3 separate regions of the Homo sapiens genome follow, and all the other regions are linked to region 1. The links are contacts of gene promoters, found by promoter capture Hi-C in blood cells and fetal thymus (Javierre and others, 2016). All regions are on one chromosome and are shown on one strand. Each heading gives the region's core, a stretch centred on a gene start or on the middle of the fragment in contact. The rest is flanking DNA. Distances are from core to core; before and after follow the strand shown.

Region 1 (3,297 bases), core at 508-3,007:
GGTTGAGAGAGAGATGGGGACCTACTGGGTACTATGCTCACTACCTGGAATGGGATCATTCATACTCCAAACCTCAGCATCACGAAATATACCCATGTAGCAAACCTGCACAAGTACCTCCTTGATCTAAAATAAAAGCTGAAAATTACAAAAACTTTAATTGGGCATGGTGGCTCACGCCTGTAATCCCAGCACTTTGGGAGGTCAAGGCAAGCAGATCGCTCAAGCTCAAGGAGTTCGAGACCAGCCTGGGCAACATAGCGAAACCCCATGTCTACTACAAATATAAAAATCAGCCCGGCGTGGTAACACGCGCCTCGGGAGGCTGGCTGAGGCGGGATCCCTTCAGCCTGGGAAGGGGAGGATGCAGTGAGCAGAGATCGATCGTGCCACTGCATTCCAGCCTGGAGTGCGATAGAGGCAGACTCTGTCTCAAGAAAAAAAAAACAACAAAAAACTTAAATTTCCCTTGACTTTTAAGTTCACTCTTGTTCGCCACTAAAAATGCAGTTAATCACCACTGCTAGTTACCAGTATGCAACGTGAACCAGTTCTAAAATGTCAAACTAAAAAAAGTCTGAAATAACCCAAGTCCACCTTTCTACAACTGTAAGGAAGACTAATGAGCTCTCTTCCAAATACGAGTGCCAGAAACAATCTTTGCTGTGTACCTCCTTTCTGGTTTAGTAACTGCTTCAAGAACGCTGCTTCACTCACCTTAATCTTTCCCAACTTAAGTGGGCCTTATAGGAAGTCTTGAAAGGATGGAAAAGCGTAAGGTAATCCACTAGATCACTGCACTACCAACACTTGTAACGCGGTAGTAAGCAAGACACGACACGAAAGAGGACCACAACTTTCCACGTCAATAAGGTTCACTGCCAGAGCTCCCTAGTTAGTACCTGTTCTAGAAAACAGGCCAGGAAACAAGCACAAAAGCTTTTAGGTAATCACGGATATTTCAAAAGTCGTGGAATTTTAAAAGGGAGACATTGAGACGATAATTTAAAGAAACAAGGTGGGCAAATTTTTTCCCAAGGGCACAGATAAACCGCAAATCTCTAATTCAATGCAACATTCTTCACTAAATAACGGGAACTTTTTCATTTCATTATTACGAAGATTAAGTCATTGAACTTAAGTCCATAAAACGTTATTCTGACAAGACTTTGAAATCATTTCGTAGACTTAATCCTATTTAAACTTCTATCCATTTTATCCTAATGCAATAGCACTGCAATCAGACGGGCTAAGTCAATTCAATTGCTAACTCTTCTGAAAACTTACTCTGGACACACTAACACGAAGTACCACAGTGGCAAAAGTAATAAAATCAGTTTTGTGCGGCTCCTGCCAACTCTTAACTTGGAACCACTAAGTAGGTCAGGCCCGAGGCGGGCAGAGCCCCAACTGGACTGCGCGTCCCACACCGGGCACCTCACATTTTGGCACAACTCCAACCAAACGAAACCCAGCCGCTCGGAGCCCACTCCACCCCCTACGGCGGGACGTTAGAGGCCGTCTCCGCGTTTCACCGACTAGGACTGGGGCTCCCGATAGCCGGGAGGCCGAAAGCCGGGCCCAGTCCTTCCCCAGCTGCCCCCACCCGGCCTCGCCTCCTTCATGGGCGCCGGAGCGCCGGGCACGTAGCGCGCGCTGACGTCAGCCCTCCCGCGGGCCCTGTCCCTGCCCCCACCCCGCCGCGCGCCCGGAACGCCGAAACCCCCTGGAACGCCGCCAGCCTTCTAAATCGGGGCTGTTGCTGGGGCGCAGCGGCGCTTCTCATTGGCCGACTCCTGGGAGCCAATCAGAAGCGCCAGCGCATGCCTCCCCTTCCCCCTTCTTCCCCCAAAGCAAGAATGGAGCGGGCGTCACGGAAACTTCCCTCCCGAGTAAACAGCCGCCCCCCCCACCCCGCCCCCACCCGCCCGACCCCCCGGGTGCAGGGTCTGCAGCCCCAGAGCTCGGCCGCGACCGTCTAAGGGCCCGACTCCCCAACGGCCCCCTGGCGGCCTCACCTCTTTCCTGAGGGGGGTTTGGCCGGGAGCCGCGGGCCGCAGCGGGGCAAGGTCGGGGCTGGCTCCCTCCGTGCCGGCTGCGGCTGCAGGACTCGGGGCCAAGGCGGCGGCCGGGCCCGGGACCTCCTGCGCTCCGCTCGGGCCGGTCGCGGGGCTCCGGCCGCCCTCCAGACTCGGCCGGTGCTGCTGGTACTGGTGGAAGCGGCTGGGCAGCTGCCCTGCGGGGCTGGCCCGCACCTTCTTCTTTCGCCGCTTCTTCGGCGCTGCCCGAGGAGTGCCTCCCGCCACGGCGAGGCTGCGGTTGGGCAGAGCTGCTGGAGCGCGAGGCTGGGGGGTCAGACACGGGCCATCTCCCCCTAGGAAATGAGGGAGGAAGAGGGTCGGGGGCAGTGCCCGGGGGTCCGGGATCCGGGGTAAAGGAGGCGGAGCCGTGGTCACCATCGGGAGGGCCCCAAAGTAACCTCGGGAGGAAAAGCCAAGCGGCGCAAGGCGGCCACCCAGGACGAGCGGCTCCCGCTGCGGGACGGAGACGACAGTCATAGCGCTAGGAAGCTTGTCGCTCAGCAACGAAGAGAGAAGGAGAAGGTGAATGAAGCCAGTGAAGATAGGGTGGCGGCGATGGATGCTGCTAGGAGAGCCTGAGAAGATCGCGGAACATGACTCGGGCGGTGGCGGCGCAGCAACAAATAGCCACAGCCCCAGCTCCGAGTGTTGTTATCGGAAGCTCCGCCCCGCGCCCGCCCACTTTCCTGCGAAAGCCCAATTAGAGTGCGACAAGGCAGGCCACGCCCCCTCGCTCCGCCTCCGCAGCTTCGGGTAGACACACACAAACAACCAGCTTGCTGCAGCCTGGCACAAAGAGGGCGCACTGCGCAGGCGCTGCCAGCGAGCTCTTTTGGGAAGAATCGGTCCCGCGAACAATGAAATTGGGTTTCCGCCCCACCCTCTTTACTCCTCCCCAGCACGCCCCTGCGCTTCGCCGGGCTAGGGAGTGGTGGTACTGAAATGTCCCGGCGGAGTTTGTTGATGGGGGTGGGGAAGGGAGGGGGCAGGGGGAGGGCGGCAGGAAGAACGGGGGCTGGGAAGAGGGGATGACTTTGGCAAGGCCACGGTTGCCTCCTCCGCTGCTGACCTTGGGGAAGTATCCGTTTTATTTTCAGCCCAACATAACAGCGTTATCATTTTAAAACAAAGATTTCTAAGTACGCTGTAAGGATTTCTTCCCTAGCAATCGTGAAGAAAATCAGTCTACATTTAAATTTTATCTACTGAAGTATGG
Region 2 (3,297 bases), core at 457-2,956, 1.4 Mb after region 1:
AACTACTTCTAAATATGGTTTAAAAATAATAGACAAAATGGCTATAAAACATCTGTTACTGAATAAAGAAGAATACATGAGCACTGGAAATCAGTATTTATAATCATTTGACAGTTGGCATTCACAAAATTGTTTCATATTGCACTGGTGATAGTTTCTACATATATCACTTTTTTTTTTTTTTTTTTTTTTTGAGACGAAGTCTAGCTCTGTCACCCAGGCTGGAGTGCAGTAGCTTGATCTTGGCTCACTGCAACCTCCGCCTCCCGGGTTCAAGCGATTCTTCTGCCTCAGCCTCCTGAGTAGCTGGGACTATAGGTGTGCGCCACCACGCCCGGCTAATTTTTTTTATTTTTAGTAGAGACAGGGTATCACCATGTTGAACAGGCTGGTCTCGAACTCCTGACCTCGTGATCCGCCTGCCTCGGCCTCCCAGTGCTGGGATTACAGGCGTTAGCCACCGCGCCCGGCATCATTTTCTTTTCTTTTCATTTTTTTCAGACAGAGACTCGCTCTATCACCCAGGCTGGAGTGCAGTGGCAACATCTCGGCTCACTGCAACCTTCGCCTCCCGGGTTCAAATGATTCTCCTGTCTTAGCCTCCCGAGTAGCTGCGACTACAGGCGCGCGCCACCACGCTCGGCTAATTTTGTATTTTTAGTAGAGACGGGGTTTCACCATTTTGACCAGGCTGGTCTCGAACTCCTGACCTCAGGAAGATCCGCCTGCCTCGGCCTCCCAAAGTGCTGGGATAACAGGCGTGAGTCACCATGCCCGGCTACACAGATCACTTTCTAAATTAGCGCTGTATTTGATTCTTATTTTAGGTATGTGACTAAAAGTACAACTTCTAGAAACACTTTTTTCCCCTTCCGCTTACAAAATGGATCCATCCAATATCTATTACCTAAACATTTCACTGTCTTTTGATTAGTTTTGTAACAAAGTTCACAATATATGCACCAATATTCAACAGAAGTAATGCAATGTCTGATACCACTTGCTTTTTACCCAACGCAAAACAATTTGATTCTGTAAGTCGTTCAAGTCCTATTCATTTACAGAAGCAAAGCTGGCTTTACAGAATTTCATTAGTGGATGAAGCAGCTACCTCCGAAGGGTAGAGCATCGAGTTGAATCAAGGATCCTGTAACCTGATACTATTACTGTTGTTCTGTCTGCCAGTCCTAAATAGGTTTCATAATCTCATTATCTCCTATCCTCTCCATGTGAAAGGTCTTGTTTTGGGTACTGTCGCTACCGAAATTAAGCTAACTTTGACTAGAGATTGGTTTATTATATTTCCCAGATCTGAAATCACTGTGGGAGCAACTATACGGAGAATCTTAAAAGATTTCTATGTCGCTTAGCCTGCTTTTGCCACGGGTTCGCTTTCCCATCTCCCACTGTCTCAGAACCTTCTCTTTTTTTCTCTTTTGCTTAGTTCCTCTTACACTCAAGCTGTGTAGGGGGATTTAAATTCCAACCCGGAACTCGGAATCGCGCGCCTTGCATGACGGAAGTCGTAGTTTCTGTGACTCCTCCCTTCCCGCCTTTCAAGCCGATTCCTCCCGGTACCTAAAAACTACAACTCCCAAAATGCATCCCCGGTTTGGCCCGCCCCCGTGCGCAAGCGCTCTGAGGCCGCCGGATTTGAATCGGCGGCGTTGTTATTGACGCCATATTGGGGCCGGCGGCGGGTGGGAGAGTTCTACGAGGGAGGGGAAGCGGTTGGACGTGTTCGCTTGGGTTCCTGCTGCGGCAGCTACCTCGCAATCTCTCTGCATCGATCGCCGCTCGCAAGCTACTGACCGTACTCGGGCGTATTAGGAGCCGCGTTCCAGCCTCACACCCCACGGTGCTGTTTTCGACTTCAGAAAGGATCTAGTCTCAGCACAGAAGCGCCTCAGGCGCGGCGCAAAGCTCGAGCGGACGGCGGGGGCGGCCGGAGCCTCTCTCGGGGGAGCCGCGCCTGAGGAGGCGGAAGAACCCCCCTGACGCGACTGGCGTGTGCTTCTGCCCGCCACCGCCCCTCCCGCTCTCACCCGGGCCGTCCCTGGCCACTGCCCCTGCCGCGGAGGCAGCGGCGGCAGCGGCTCTCCTTTCCACAGCCGGCGCTCCGCGACCCGCTTGGCTCCTGAGCCCGTCGGGTAGGCTCTCCTCGAGTTCCCGCTCTTCACCCCTTCCCTCACCCTCTTCTTTCGTCACCCGTCCCCGACCCCACCCGAGCCCGGCGCCTCAGCTGCCCCCGGCCATGGCGTGCGGAGCCACTCTGAAAAGGACTCTGGATTTCGACCCGCTGTTGAGCCCGGCGTCCCCGAAGCGCAGGCGATGTGCGCCATTGTCGGCGCCCACCTCGGCCGCTGCCTCCCCGTTGTCGGCGGCCGCGGCCACCGCCGCCTCCTTCTCCGCTGCGGCCGCCTCGCCGCAGAAGTATCTCCGAATGGAGCCATCCCCCTTCGGCGACGTCTCCTCCCGCCTCACCACAGGTGGGACCCGGCCCCGCGGCCGCCGGGGTAGTGGAGAGAACTGGGAACAGGGGTCCTGGGGTGTGGGATGCGGCCCCTGGGGTGGGGGTGCCGGACTGTGTGGTTCTTGTTCTTAGCAAAGTAGTAGGGCAGCCACGTTTTTCACTAGGTCCTCGTAGCCCGAGGACCTAATAAGACACAATAGAAATGGGCTGATGTCAAGGGGATAGTGTTTGGAGGTGGGTAGGGGCTTTGCCTTGCCCGTATTGGGTAGAACAGGGACATCTTTTTCTTTGGGCCGAATGATTGGAATTGTTTCCGTAGTCGCTGGAGCCCCAGCGGAAATGATCAGAGAGGACGATATTATTCGTAAATTTAGGCGAAAGGGTCACATTTCACCCCAATCTGGATGTGTGCTTGCCGTAATCGATTGGTTGCAGCTATTAACTCTGGGACTGGGTGGTTTGAGGCGAGGCTACAGCCCCTCCTTCAGTTCAGACACGGCTGATTTTAGTATAGTGGGGGTGGGGGGTGGGGGATGGATGTCACTAGGGCGAGATCTAGGCCTGTCATTAATCACCCACAAGAACGCCACTTTGGCTGAGTCAAGACCTGTTTCCCTAGCAGGGTCAACAACAAAGAAAATGCTCTTCCCGAGTACTGTAATATGATCACACTATAAGTCTAGACCTTGAGAAATGTTGAACTTTTAATAAGCATATTGCATTGAAAATTGGGGCTGAGGAGTTGCTTTTATTTGGAAATGTTTTATTTTTGCCCAACAAAGTATGCTGGGGGAAAACAACCTAGCCTTGAGAATAATGAAGAA
Region 3 (3,297 bases), core at 439-2,938, 1.2 Mb before region 1:
TACGGATGCTCTCAAGCATCCCTTGTTGTGAGAAAAACATTTATTGCTGCTACTAAAATGCGTAAAGTTATCTCACAAACACATACTTACAAGAATGAGGAATGAGAAACAGAACCATCCATAAAACTATAAGAAACGGCCTGGCCAGGGCAGACCAGGAATTAGTACTCTGTCCTTGCCAGGGGTCAGGCAGGGACCTCAGAAGCAGGGTGTTTTGTCCTAGGGGGCACCAGACCAGAGGTCAGGAGACTGAGGGCTACTCCTAGCTCTAGGACTTTTCCTTATCTGAAGGCCGGGTCGGTTAGCAGAGAAAATCTCACAGTCCCGTGCCAGACCTCCACGCAGGGACTCTGCAGTGCTGTTAGAAAAATTAGCTCAGCACCTTCAGCTTGCTTTCAGCCATCACTTAGCTTTCCACACAGACATTCCAAATGGGGCCTTTCAAAACTCTGCCCTCAAATGAAGGTAGTTCAGAGCAACACTTTAGATGATATCACAAGACTCCCAGGACGCTTCACTGCTTCCTCAGCATACGCCAGTGCCCGTTTTACAGGGGGGATTTATGATCCTTCTCTCAGTAGAGCGAGCCAAACTTTTATAATATTCATTAAAAATCAGCACCACGTGTAATAATATGGAATACTGCCTGTACACAAGAGGGCCAAGTTATAGGTGTTTAGGGAAACGTGGCAGAATTTTCTGGCCTTGGCAAGAGGTAAAGTTGCAGGCACCAGCACAACACTAACACAACCTTATTTTATTGCAAATGTACATTCAGCCTAAATCCTAATTACCTTCTGTAAAATCCTAACCACCACCAAGCTTTCTTCTGACAGGGCACTCACACGACGGCCTTTAAGGGCAGCAACAACATCCTAAGAGCCGCAGAAAGGAAAGGCAGGGGAGAGTGGCTGGAAGGCAGTAGGAGCTGGGGCTGAAGCCCGGGAGGTTGGCTTTTAATGTCCTCCTGAAATTGACCACTCTCTTTCCAAAAACACTGGCTTGGGGGCTTAAAGGTTCGCTCAGTAGGGCAGGCGGAGGGCCTCCTGAAAAGGATTGAGAAGTCAACATTCAAAAGGCTGCTTTTACTCGCCCGGTCCCCACCCAAAAGGGAGTCCGGTCAGCTTTGTGGGGGCCAGTGGAGCATCTTTTCTTGCCCTTCCGGGAAAACGCTAGCTAACCCTGGGATCCCCGGTCCCGACGTCTGCTCTCCTTCCCCAGGTGCAGCACCTAGGGCTCTGGCCCCCTCCCCACGTGCCACACCAGCCCTCACCACTACTCTCACCCTGCTATGCCCCCAACCCTCGTCTTTCGTGGCCGGGAAGGCCAGGCCGAGCGGGGCGGTCAGCCGGGCCGGGAGGAGGGGGCTCTCCGGGCCGCGCGGCCGCACAAAGCGGGGAGATCTGCTGCTGCGGCGGCATGAGGCGCGCCCCCTCCCGCGAGCCAGCGGAGCGCGCGCGCCCGCCCCCGTCCCCCGCCCCCCGCCCCAGCCCCCGGAGCGCCATTCGCGGAGCGGCTTACGCTAGTCGCCGGGCGTACCGCGCCCCAGCGGCCGGGGAGGTGCGCTGCCCGGCTCCCGTAAAGTTATTGTGAATGGGGAGCGGGTGACGTCAGCGCCGAATGTCAACAATGTAGCGATTGAGAGTGTGGGCGTTCCGGGGAGAGCGCAAGCCGCGCGGCGCGGAGCAAACAGCGCCGAGCCGCCGCCGCCTCAGCAGCAGCAGCAGCAGCAGCAGCGGCAGCAGCGGCCGTGCACGCCCGGGCTGCGGTCGCACAGCGCTAACGTGAGCGGCCGCCGCCCTCGCCACCCCGCCTGCCCACTCCCGCCGCCGCCCCGCTCTCGCTTTCCCCCCGGCCTCCCCTCGCCCCTTCCCCTCCCCCTTCCCGGCGCACTCGGGGGGCTGGGAACGAGCTGCCATGTGATGCGCGTCCCCTCCGCGAGCTTTCGGTGACCCACGAACTGCCCACCTCGCCGGCTGCCGGGAGGGGGCTGCGAGCCGGGAAGACGCGGGGAAGAGGAGGCGGAAAAGGACGCAAAGTTCTCCGGCGAGGTGAGTCCCGGGCCCCGGGCCCCGGGCCCCGCCGCTGGGCGGGGTGGCGGGGCAAGTTTGCGGGGGGAGCGGGCGCGCGGGGCGGGCGGGGAGGCGTGGGGAAACGGCGCGGGAAGGGAGCCCCGGCCGCCGGGCGCGCAGCCGCCCTCCCCGCGCCCTGCCCGCTTTTATGGCATTTTCTAGGAACGGGAAGGGGGTGGGAGCCGAGCCGGCGGCCGCGCCGCGCCGAATGTGTGCTCTCCCTCCCGGCTGTTTACGGCGGCCGAGGCGCATTGTATTTTGCTGGCGTCGAAGGGTGTTTTGGAACAGCAGAGGGAGGAGGAGCAGAGAGTAATAAGTCAGGCATGGGGAGGGCGGGCTGCAGGAGGCGCGCGTCCGCGCGAGCCGCAGCAGCTGTCAGACCCGCGGCCCTGCCCCCGGCCCGGCGAGGCCCGGGTGTCCCGGCCCCCAGCCTGCGATCCCAGCTCCAGGCCGGGCGGCCTCCTCCTTAACCCTCGGCGTGCGCATCCCGGGCTGCTCCGCGAGGACCTTGGCCGCGGCGCCTTTGCGCTCAGCTGTCAGCCGCCGCCGGGTGGCCCGGACCACCGCGACCGGCGGGGAATCAAAGCCCAAGTTTAGGGTCGCAGGAAGAGGCGAGCTGGGGGCCTCGCGGCGCAGACCTGGATCGAATCTCTCCTAGCGAAAGATCGGGTTGTCGGAAAGCGTCCCGCGTAGCTAAGACCTAAGGGCGCCAGGCTTCTGAGAGGGAAACCTTGCACCTCCTCTCCCACAGATCCTCCATGAAGTCAAGGTGCAACACACACACACACACACACACACACACACCCTACACTCCAGTCTCCAAGCCCCAGAAGCTTCACCCAGGAGACTGGTTTATGAAGGGGACACTGCCCTCCCCGTCCCCGCGTCGAGGCGCTCCGTGGCCCCGCTGTGCTTCGCTCACCCGGCGGGTGTTCGGGAGCCCGGCGCCGCTGGAGACGGCGGCGGGCGGCGCTCACGGGCTACCCTAGGTGCCCACGAGGGGAGAGACTGGAGCGAGCATCTCGGCGACCTCGGTCTGGCCAAGCATTTGCAGGAACTCGGACCGTGAGGGGAAGCGTGCAGGGCCGGGAGTGAGTGTGTGAAGGGGTGGCACACTCCTGGCTTCTGGGGTCGCGGGCGCATGGGGCATCCCCAGCACTCTCCCGCGCGTAGGCGAGTTTGGTAACTTGAGGGAAGTTCCGGCGCGGCCGCTGCCGGGGTGGTT

What was found. The method cuts DNA at HindIII sites, captures the fragments that hold promoters and counts their contacts. A CHiCAGO score of 5 or more calls a contact.
Region 2: a contact is called between the fragment with the promoter of AKIRIN2 here and a fragment that was not itself captured in region 1, in 1 of 17 cell types (fetal thymus). The highest score is 11.1, in fetal thymus.
Region 3: the fragment with the promoter of BACH2 here is called in contact with a fragment that was not itself captured in region 1 in 1 of 17 cell types (fetal thymus); the score reaches 12.7 in fetal thymus.

Annotation. Positions count from the first base shown.
Region 1 is chr6:89,080,156-89,083,452 of GRCh38, reverse strand. PNRC1 (proline rich nuclear receptor coactivator 1) reads right to left here and starts at 2,702. Exons shown (of 2, transcript NM_006813.3): 1 at 2,019-2,702. The coding sequence starts at 2,558. It overlaps PNRC1-DT (PNRC1 divergent transcript), which reads left to right and starts at 2,873. Exons shown (of 1, transcript NR_187250.1): 1 at 2,873-3,291. RefSeq lists an enhancer at 1,029-1,989 and silencers at 1,898-2,277, 2,668-2,817, 2,868-3,077. The HindIII fragment of the contact is 1,631 bases long and covers 942-2,572 here.
Region 2 is chr6:87,700,642-87,703,938 of GRCh38, reverse strand. AKIRIN2 (akirin 2) reads left to right here and starts at 1,706. Exons shown (of 5, transcript NM_018064.4): 1 at 1,706-2,489. The coding sequence starts at 2,255. RefSeq lists enhancers at 1,135-1,444, 1,755-1,814 and silencers at 1,975-2,144, 2,325-2,534. The HindIII fragment of the contact is 11,354 bases long and covers 1-3,297 here.
Region 3 is chr6:90,295,234-90,298,530 of GRCh38, reverse strand. BACH2 (BACH transcriptional regulator 2) reads left to right here and starts at 1,688. Exons shown (of 9, transcript NM_021813.4): 1 at 1,688-2,051. It overlaps LOC105377891 (a long non-coding RNA gene), which reads right to left and starts at 1,292. Exons shown (of 7, transcript XR_942778.4): 1 at 795-1,292. RefSeq lists silencers at 1,775-1,824, 2,450-2,509 and an enhancer at 3,293-3,297. The HindIII fragment of the contact is 2,083 bases long and covers 825-2,907 here.